Regions from separate parts of the Homo sapiens genome. Here region 2 is linked to region 1. Evidence: promoter capture Hi-C in 16 types of primary human blood cells and fetal thymus (Javierre and others, 2016). All regions are on one chromosome and are shown on one strand. The core of a region is centred on a gene start or on the middle of the fragment in contact, and the rest is flanking DNA. Distances in the headings are between cores, read along the strand shown. Region 1 holds the start of TYMS (thymidylate synthetase). Region 2 has its middle 46 kb from the start of YES1.

The links. The method cuts DNA at HindIII sites, captures the fragments that hold promoters and counts their contacts. A CHiCAGO score of 5 or more calls a contact.
Region 2: a contact is called between a fragment that was not itself captured here and the fragment with the promoter of TYMS in region 1, in 1 of 17 cell types (activated CD4 T cells). The highest score is 5.2, in activated CD4 T cells.

The regions. Positions count from the first base shown.
Region 1 is chr18:653,737-658,902 of GRCh38, forward strand. TYMS (thymidylate synthetase) reads left to right here and starts at 3,917. Exons shown (of 7, transcript NM_001071.4): 1 at 3,917-4,211. The coding sequence starts at 4,007. TYMSOS (TYMS opposite strand RNA) reads right to left here and starts at 4,555. Exons shown (of 2, transcript NR_171001.1): 1 at 4,106-4,555. RefSeq lists enhancers at 3,641-4,142, 4,143-4,642, 4,510-4,629 and silencers at 3,880-4,059, 4,230-4,279. The HindIII fragment of the contact is 8,200 bases long and covers 1-5,166 here.
Region 2 is chr18:855,270-860,593 of GRCh38, forward strand. It overlaps the pseudogene LOC441806. Among named protein-coding and RNA genes, the nearest start is that of YES1, 46 kb to the left of the region's middle. The HindIII fragment of the contact is 3,194 bases long and covers 962-4,155 here.

The DNA.
Region 1 (5,166 bases), core at 2,667-5,166:
TTCCTCAATGAGGCCTCCTGGTGATCAGATCTAAAGCACCCTCTACACAATCACTGTTTAGTGCTATACCCATTAATTTACTATCATCACACTTGTCACTATCTGCAGATGTCTTGTTTGGTTACTTTTGTAGTGTTTGTCACTGCCAGAATATCAGTTCTATGAAGAAAAGGGCCTTGTCTGTCTTGCTGTTTGTAGACATGAGGAAGGCACCATGATATAAATGTGTGTTAATGAATGAATGAATGAAATTTGTCTGAGAGAACCATTCATTCTAACCAACATTTATGGAGTAACTACTTTGAAAAGAACCATTCTGTCTTTACTATCAAGCCAAGATACTCAAGGAAGGCAGCAGAAGTGGAAGCTCCATGTGGGCAGAGGAGCCTAGTCTTGAGATGTGATTTAGCTGGTATTTGGGTGAAACAAATAAACCAGCCTCAAAATAACACAAGGGGCCGGGTGCAGTGGCTCACGCCTGTATCCCAGCACTTTGGGAGGCTCGAGGCAGGCAGATTACTTCAGGTGAGGAGTTCGAGACCAGCCTGGCTAACATGGTGAACCTCCATCTCTACTAAAAATACAAAAACTAGCTGGGCATGGTGATGGGTGCCTGTAATCCCAGTTACTCGGGAGGCTGAGGCAGGAGAATTGCTTGAGCCTGGGAGGCAGAGGTTGCAGTGAGCTGAGATTCTGCCACTGCACTCCAGCCTGGGTGACAGAGCGAGACTCCGTCGAAAAGAAAAAAAGAAAGAAAGAAAAAAAACACACAAGGATGTGCAACTGATGCAGGGCAGGTGAGCCCAGAATTGGGCTTAGCTCAGGAGGGTTCTTGGTTTTGCTCAGGAAAGAATTTAAGAGCTACCTGGTAGAAGAAAAGCTCTACTGATATGGCAACAGCTCCCTGAGTGCCCCTGTAGAGCAGAGCTACCCTATAGGCAGTGTGCTGACAGCAGTAGCTTAAAGGCAGGTCTGCAGTGATATTTATAACCTACTTTCAATTACATGCAAATTAAGGGGCAGATTATGCAGAAATGTCTAGAAAAAGGGTGGTAACTTCCGGTTGTCGGCTCACTGCCATGGAAAGGGGCAGTAAGCTCTGGATGTTGCCATGACAATCGTAAACTGACATGGCACACTGGTGGGCACGTCTTATGGAAAACTACTTCTGCCCCATCCTTGTTTTGACTACTCCTCAATTTGGTCCCATGTCAGAGCCCTGCCTCCAGAGTCAAGCCCTGTCTACCTCACAATTATTATGTATCAGGTTTTTAAAAAATAACACAAGTAAGGCTGGGCATGGTGGCTCACGCCTTTAATCCCAGCACTTTGGGAGGCCGAGGTGGGCAGATCACTTCAGATCAGAAGTCTGAGACAAGCCTGACCAACATGGTGAAACCCTGTCTCTCCTAAAAATGCAAAAAAAAAAAAAAAGAAAAAAAAATTAGCTGGGCATGGTGGCAGGCGCCTATAGTTCCAGCTACTTGGGAGGCTGAGGCAGAATTGCTTGAACCCATGCAGCGGAGTTTGCAGTGAGCTGAGCACCACTGCACTGCAGCCTGAGGGACAGAGCAAGATTCCACCTCAAAAAAAAAAAAAAAAAAAAAAAAGGAAAAAGAATAACACAAGGAAATTAAACACAGATAACGTGCATCTGGATAATCTGGAATATTTTCAGCCTGGGATCTTCCTCGTGCTCGGAAACGTGTAGGGAAACGTGTAGGGACAGTTTTCAGCTGGTGTGGGGTGGGGGAATGCCAACATATGGTTGGCTTTCCACAGTCCTGCTAAAGCCCTGCAATGTGCAGAACAAACCGGTCCAGCTAAGAAAAGTCCCACCCAAAATGCTGAGAGCACCTCTGTACTCAATCAACCGTTGAGGTAAAAGGATGCTTGCAAGTACAACACATGTATCAGTGCATTTTAAACTCATTATAAAATCGTTCTGTAAACCAAAAATAAAATTCTACGCCCAGAACCATCTGAAAAGACCACTCCTCTGGGTCAAAGGCATTCCAAATTTAACCACAAAAACTAGTTCAGGCCATGATGGGAAGGGGAGCCAGACATGCCTCATTATTCCCTCCTCCGTTTGGAATTTAGGCACAGCTGACCAGCATTGACATCAACACAGGCCTCAAGACAGGTAGAACACACTCTTTAAGTCTGACAAGAAACATTTACAATCTATCTCTCTAAAGCCTGCTACCTGGAGGTTTAATCTGCATGATGAATCCATGGTCTCCACAACCCCTTATCTTAACCCAGATATTCCTTTCTATTCATTCAAATCTTTTTTTTTTTTTTCCCCATACGGCTCTGTCACCCAGACTGGAGTGCAGTGGCGCTTTCTCAGCTACTGCAAGCAACCTCCGCCTCCTGGGTTCAAGCGATTCTCCTACCTCAGCCTCCTGAGTACCTGGGGTTACAGGCGTGTGCCACCTCGCCCCACTAATTTTTGTATTTTCAGTAGAGAGGGTTTCACTATGTTGGCCAGGATGGTCTCAATCTCCTGACCTCGTGATCTGCCCGCCTCGACCTCCCAAGTGCTGGGATTACAGGCGTGAGCCACCGCGCCCAGCCCTCTATTGATTCCAGATCTTTAGATAACAATTCTTTCAACCAAATGTATAAAAAATCAAGTTGTAGCCCAACCACCTTGGGGACATGTTCTCAGGATCTGCTGAGGGCTCTATCACCGGCCATTGGTCACTCATATTTGGCTCAGAATAAATTTCTTCAGATATTTTACAGAGTTTAACTCTTTTCATCAACAGTTCCCACTCCCCAGTGTTAATGTTATAAACAATTCAGTAAAACTGGGAAATGTGGTCTATTAAAAACTTGGGGCCGAGTGCGGTGGCTCACGCCTGTAATCCCAGCACTTTGGGAGGCCAATGTGGGTGGATCACCTGAGGTCAGGAGTTTGAGACCAGCCTGGCTAACATGGCGAAACCCCGTCTCTACTAAACATGAAAAAAAAAAATTAGCCGGGCGTGGTGGCGGCGCCTGTAGTCCCAGCTACGCGAGAGGCTGAGGCAGCAGAATTGCTTGAACCCAGGAGGCGGAGGTTGCAGTGAGCCGAGATCGCACCATTGCACTCCAGCCTGGGTGAGAGAGCGAGACTCTGTCTCAAAAAAAAAAAAAAAAGACCGCCAGGGCTCAAACAAAAAACCTCGGAAAAGCCCTGGCGGTCTTTTTTTTTTTTTTTTTTTTTTTTTTGGGACAGTCTTGCTCTGTCGCCCAGGCTGGAGTACAATGGTCGGATCTTGGCTCACTGCAACCTCTGCCTCCCAGGTTCAAGCAATTCTTCTGCCTCAGCCTCCCAAGTAGCCACCACGCCCAGCTAATTTTTGTACTTTTAGTAGAGACGGGGGTTTCACCATGTTGTCCAGGCTGGTCTTGAACTCCTGACCTCAGGTGATCCACCCGCCTCGGCCCCCCAAAGTACTAGGATTACAGGCGTGAGCCACCGCGTCCAGCGCCCTGGCGGTTTTTAATCAAGTAGAAAAGCTGCATTATACCACTTGCTTCGGTTGCTTCAGTGAGAACGAAGAAATGGAAATGCAAATCCCTTATTAGTTGTAGGAAACAGATCTCAAACAGCAGTTTTGTTGACAAGACCGCAGGAAAACGTGGGAACTGTGCTGCTGGCTTAGAGAAGGCGCGGTCGACCAGACGGTTCCCAAAGGGCGCAGTCCTTCCCAGCCACCGCACCTGCATCCAGGTTCCCGGGTTTCCTAAGACTCTCAGCTGTGGCCCTGGGCTCCGTTCTGTGCCACACCCGTGGCTCCTGCGTTTCCCCCTGGCGCACGCTCTCTAGAGCGGGGGCCGCCGCGACCCCGCCGAGCAGGAAGAGGCGGAGCGCGGGACGGCCGCGGGAAAAGGCGCGCGGAAGGGGTCCTGCCACCGCGCCACTTGGCCTGCCTCCGTCCCGCCGCGCCACTTGGCCTGCCTCCGTCCCGCCGCGCCACTTCGCCTGCCTCCGTCCCCCGCCCGCCGCGCCATGCCTGTGGCCGGCTCGGAGCTGCCGCGCCGGCCCTTGCCCCCCGCCGCACAGGAGCGGGACGCCGAGCCGCGTCCGCCGCACGGGGAGCTGCAGTACCTGGGGCAGATCCAACACATCCTCCGCTGCGGCGTCAGGAAGGACGACCGCACGGGCACCGGCACCCTGTCGGTATTCGGCATGCAGGCGCGCTACAGCCTGAGAGGTGACGCCGCGGGCCCCTGCGGGACGGGTGGCGGGAAGGAGGGAGGCGCGGCTGGGGAGAGCGCTCGGGAGCTGCCGGGCGCTGCGGACCCCGTTTAGTCCTAACCTCAATCCTGCGAGGGAGGGGACGCATCGTCCTCCTCGCCTTACAGACGCCGAAACGGAGGGTCCCATTAGGGACGTGACTGGCGCGGGCAACACACACAGCAGCGACAGCCGGGAGGTAAGCCGCGTCCCAGCGGCTCCGCGGCCGGGCTCGCAGTCGCCCCAGTGATGCCGTGGCCCCCGAGGCGGGCGTCATCGGGCAGCGTTTGCCCAGTGCTGGAGGGTTAGGGAGAGCTGCCTGGGCTTGACCGCGCGCCGGTCTCAAAGTCCTGGCTTTGGCCCCTCCTCCGTTTTCCCCTGTGGACCATTCCGCTTCGCAGCGTTTTCAAAAACTGGAGCGAAAGTGATGTGGGCGGGGCAAAGGCGGCGGGAAGAGGAGAGCACTGAAGCTGGCGCGGGAACTTGGTTTCCTGGTGGCCTCCCATCCAATCCCCACGAACCAGCTTTCCTCTTAAACCTTGAAAAGAGAAATTCGGGAGTTCGAGTATAAGTTCTTAGTCGTCCTTTCCTCTTTCCTTTCCGACAGGAGCACCCCAGGCAAAAAATGTCTCGCGGGTCATTGGCGCCAGGCTTTCAGGGGACAGTGGGGCGGGGCGGGGTGGGCACAGGACGTTAGGCAGCCGTTGGCCCTCCCTAAGGCCACACCGTCCTGCCGTCCTGGATCCTGCGCCAGCTGCGCGGGGGAGGGGACTCGAAGGTGTGTGAGCCAGGGGCTGACCTTGACCGCTCAGATAAATGGAGCGCAGCCTTGACACAGGGGTGGAGGTGGTTTTGAATGGGGAAACCCATTCGTGGTGAAGCAGATTCACTGTAGCTAGCGGAAAAGCCCTCCGGCCCACGGACCCATCTAG
Region 2 (5,324 bases), core at 1,309-3,808, 200 kb after region 1:
AAACGTGTACAATTAGAGAACATTATGCTTGGCCAAACTGTTATCTGTTTGAGAAGACTAAAGAAATATGTTATTATATGTGCAAAAGCTCTGATACATCCCAGTTCATCAAGAGACAAATCAAAATTGGTTGGGGGCTGTGGCTCATGCTTTAATCTTAACCCTTTGGGAGGCCAAGGTGAGAGGATCACTTGAGGTCAGGAGTTCAAGACCAGCCTGGGCAACATGGTGAAGCTCTGTCTCTACTAAAAGTATAAAAAATTAGCTGAGCATCCACACCTGTAATCCCAGCACTTGGGAGGGTGGGTGGATCACGAGGTCAAGAGATCGAGACCATCCTGGCCAACATGGTGAAACCCTGTCTTCACGAAAAACACAAAAATTAGCCGGAGGTGGTGATGCATGCCTGTAGTCCTAGCTACTTGGGAGGCTGAGGCAGGAGAATTGCTTGAATCCAGGAGGCAGAGGTTGCAGTGAGCCGAGATCATGCCACTGCATTCCAGCCTGGGCAACAGAGCTAGACCCCGTCAAAAAAAAAATTAGCCGAGCATTGGGGTGCACGCCTGTAAGCCCAGCTACTCGGGAGGCTGAGGCATGAGAATCACTTGAACCCAGGAGGCAGAGTTTGCAGTGAGCTGAGATTTAAAAAAAAATCAAAATTTAGATGAAATGTAGAATTTAAGAAATGAGAGATGGTGAGATGGTGGCATAAAGGACTGGTAATGAGCATGAAACCCAGTTACATTTAGAATTAGCTACAAAACCAAATGCAAACCTTATTGAAAACACTGAAGAGCTAAATAAATGGAGAGATATATCACATTCAGAGATGGAAAAACGTTTCCAGGGTCAAGAGTCTAGGAATGTTTTTGCTGGGTCCTGGGCTCAAGGCCTCCCAAGCCTGAATTCAAGGTTTCAGCCAGGTCTGCAATTTCACCTGGAGCTCAGGGTCTTCATCTAAAGCTTATGGGTTGTTGGCAGAGTTCAGTTCCTAAGGGTTGTTGGATGGCGGTCTCTGCTTTCTTATTGCTGGCCAACTGGGCTCCCTTCTCATACTCTGGAGGCTGCCTGTGGTTTTCTGCCCTGTGGTCCTCTCTCCAACATGGCAGTTGCTCCTGTGAGGCCAGTGGAAGAATCTCTCTTATACTCTGAATCTCTCCTTCAGGATGGGCCCAGGGACTTTGAAGAGCTCATCCGATTAGGTCAGGCCCATCCAGGATAATTTTCCTTTCGATTGATTGAAAGTCAGCTGCTAAGAGCTACCCAAGTCAGCCTACATGCACCAGCTCTTGGGCCTCAACCTCCTCTTCCTGCTGTCCCAGGATTAGGTGGCTGAGTTCCACATGGAGTTGGAGTGGCTGCCTGCCACGGACACACAGACCAATGCCTACATCAAGCGCCCTGTGTCCCTGGAGCCATACCTGATGGAGGGCGGCTACAACAAGGTGTTCCTGGCCAAGGGTAACATCCCTGCCAAGAGCTACACCTTCATCCACATCCTGCTTGACACTATCAGGGATGAGATGGCTGGGTGCATTGAGAAGGCCTATGAGAAAATCCTTTTCACCAAGGCCACCTGGATCCTCTTCCTCAACACACCCAAACAGATGATGGACAACACCAAGAAGTGAGGGTGGGTCCTGGGCCCCAACAACTACTACAGTTTTGCCAGCCAGCAGCAGAAGCTGGAAGACACCACCATTCCAAGTTGAGTATGCCTGGCAGCCCACCAGGCACTGGGTGGGGCAGGGCATACGTTATTTAAAACAGTTACAGTGCAGGGTTTCCTCTAATAAAGGTGGATTGACATTCTGTCTTCCAGGCCCTTATCTCCCCATTTGGAATGGTGAGGAGCCAAGTTCTTATATCTGAGATAGATAAGTTTTGGGGCCCTCAGGGGATGGAGATAACACCCTCCAACTGGGTCAGCCTCTGTCTGATGGCCATTGCTCAGGGTCTCAAACACAGATGGCCACCGTAGAGCCCCAGCAGCACTGTGGCCTACAGGAGAGCATGGCCCCAGGTAGGGGGATGTTCCAGCCAGCTGTGGACACACAGGAATGCTGGGCCAGGGTACCAGATATTTTTCAACAAAGGGGGTGAAGTGTCCCATTAAAAAAAAGTTGGCAATGAATTAAGCAATTTTTCAAATAATAATAATAATAATAATAATAATAATAATAATAATAAACACAGGCCAGACATGGTGGCTCACGCCCATAACCCCAGCACTTTGTGGGGTGGAGGCAGGCTGATGACCTGAGGTCAGGAGTTTGAGACCAGCCTGGCCGACATGGCGAAACCTCGTCTCTACTAAAAATACAAAAATTAGCTGGGCTTGGTGGCGGTTGCCTGTAATTCCAGCTACTCAGGAGGCTGAGGCAGGAGAATCACTCGAACTCGGGAGGTGGAGGTTGCAGTGAGCTGAGATTGCACCATTGAATTCCAGCCTGGGTGACAAGAGCAAGACTCCATCTCAAAAAACCCCCCAAAACCCCCCAAAAACACATACACACAACAAAGTCAGCTGCTAAGGGGCATTAATTACATCTGCAAAATCCCACTGGTCACAGGATGTCACATAATCACGAGAGCAACTGTCCCATCATAGGCTCAAGTCACAGTCACGCTCAGGGGGTGAGGGTGAGACGGAGCCTGTATACCAGGGAGCAGGAATCTTGGGGGACATCTTAGAATTCCACCTCCTACAGTAACATTTCTCCTCACCATGAACCCACAACAGGTTTTCTGTCTATTCCATAAATACATTTGTGGTTAGAATTTGAGGAATTTCATACAAAACTGTCTGGTCGGTTCCCCCTGGGTCTTTTGGAAAAGAGTAGGCTTGAAGAGAATGGAGGGCAAGAGTGAGATTATTCAGGAAGGAACCCCCAGAGAAGCCACAGAGGATCAGGATAGAGCCAAGGAGTGCTGAGCCTTCCTCTTGGGTTGGGTGTGAGGCTGAAGCCAAAAATATAGCTCGTGTCAGACTTTTGGCTGCTCTATTCATTACACAGAAGAATAACATTTCATTAGCTGTTGTCATTCAAAGTGGAATATATCTTCATTCTCTTTAGGGTTTTTGGCAGTTAGATTTCTGAGTTACTTCATAAAAATTTAAATTAGCTATTTTTAATGATAACTGGTAGAAGAAGATAAATCATCATTCACAGAATTTTTAATGGGAAAAGTAATTTCAGTATTCTTATGGGGGAAGCACTTTTGGGCAAAAGTTATTCCTACAGCCCTCATGTTATTACTTCAAACATGAACCTGGGTTAGAAGAAGAAAGATTTGCTGCTGAGTTTTGTGTTTGGAATTGGTGTACCTGAAGCATGGGAAGTGTCCAATTTATGTGTGTGTGTTTGAGATGGAGTTTCACTCTTGTCGCCCAGACTGGAGTGCAGTGGTGCAATCTCAGTTCACTGCAACCTCTGCCTCCCAGGTTCAAGTGATTCTCCTGCCTCAGCCTCCTGAGTAGCTAGGATTACAGGCATGTGCCACCAACACCGGGCTAATTTTGTATTTTTAGTAGAGATCGGGTTTCACCATCTTGGCCAGGCTGATCTCGAACTCCTGACCTTAGGCGACCCACCCGCCTCGGCCTCCCAAAGTGCTGGGATTACAGGCATGAGCCACTGCGCCCAGCCCGATTTATTTGTAATACAATAAATCATGCATTATATTAACCTTTTTGGTGATTCATTTTCTCATTTATTAATTTAATGCATCCATTGTTTTCAAAGTGAGGCTTAATATTGTAAGTAATACAGTGGTAGTAGAATGGGGCAAGCCTATTCATCTTGGGTTAAGTGAGAACACCTTCATTTTCATAATGTAGAGCATTATCCTTTTCTATGGAGATTAAGCTAAATGCCAGGCTTCCTGTATTCACCCAGAATACTCAGCAGGCTGGTTTGTAAAAGAGGAGATATTTTGAGTTTGGCTGAAAGTAGCAATTTATTAATAAATCAATTTTTATCTTTTTAAAAATAGAGACAGGGTCTTGCTATGTTGCCCAGACTGGTCTCGAACTCCTGGTCTCAAGCGATCCTCCCACCTCGGTCTCCCAAAGTGCTGGAATTACATGTGTGAGCCACCACATCCAGCCTGAAAGTAGCAATTTAGGAAAAAAACAAACAAACAAACTTAGGAAGCTTTTAGTGACTGAGAAAATGAGTTGGTTTCATGCTTCTGGGAATTTATAAATGAACTAACTGAAAATGGAAACAGTGGTTATAAAGATTGTCAATAAAAAAGAAAATGAACTATTGTCTTTGAGAACTTAGAAAGTTTTCTGCGTCTTTGTAGCCAGGAGGAAAAAAAAAAAGAACGTAGAGGCTGAGAGTGGTGGCTCATGCCTGTAATCCCAGTACCTTGGGAGGCCAAGGCAGGCGGATCATGAGGTCAGGAGCTCGAGACCAGCCTGGCCAACACAGTGAAACCCCATCTGTATTAAAAATACAAAAATTAGCTGGATATGGTGGCACGCACCTGTAGTCCCAGCTACTTGGGAAACTGATGCGGGAAAATTGCTTGAACCCGGGAGGCGGAGGTTGCAGTGAGCCAAGACCACACCACTGCACTCCAGCCTGGGTGACAGAGTGAGATTCTGTCTCAAAAAAACAAAAAACAAAAAACAAAAAACTTAGAAACTCATTTTGATAATATATATGTTGTATGTGTAATAATAAATATGTTTCATCTTTTATTCTAATAACTGTCTAAGTGTAGAACTAACTGTAAATAACATACCTGGCTTTTATGAAAAATAAAATACATCAATAAGTTCTAAAAGAAAGGAAAACATGCTTGCCATTGGACCTTATGATATCATAATATCGCCTAATGCACATATGTTGAAAATGCAGTCTTTTACTGACATTCCATCTTAAAAACAAATCATAGAGGATTCATTTCTGGAGGGATTAAACATAGTTTGATTAGGTTTCACCTCAACAGAGGAATCGTATGTGGATACTTCCAGGATTCATGTCTTTGAAACGTTTGGAAAACTGAGGGTTAGTTTGTTCTAGTTTGTTGGGTGGGCGGGGGTGGGGGTGGTGGTGGGGGCACAGCTCTGGCAGATTGCTGCTCACTGCCAGCAGATCAGATTTTTTTTTTTTTTTTTTTTGAGACAAGGTCTCACTCTGTTGCCCAGGCTGGAGTGCAGTGGTGAGATCTTGGCTCACTGCAGCCTCGGCCTCCTTGAGCTCAAGCAATCCTTCCACTTTAGACTCCCAAGTAGCTAGGATTACAGGCATGCGCCACCACACCCAGCTAATTTTTGTATTTTTTGTAGAGACGGGGTCTTGTTTTTCTGT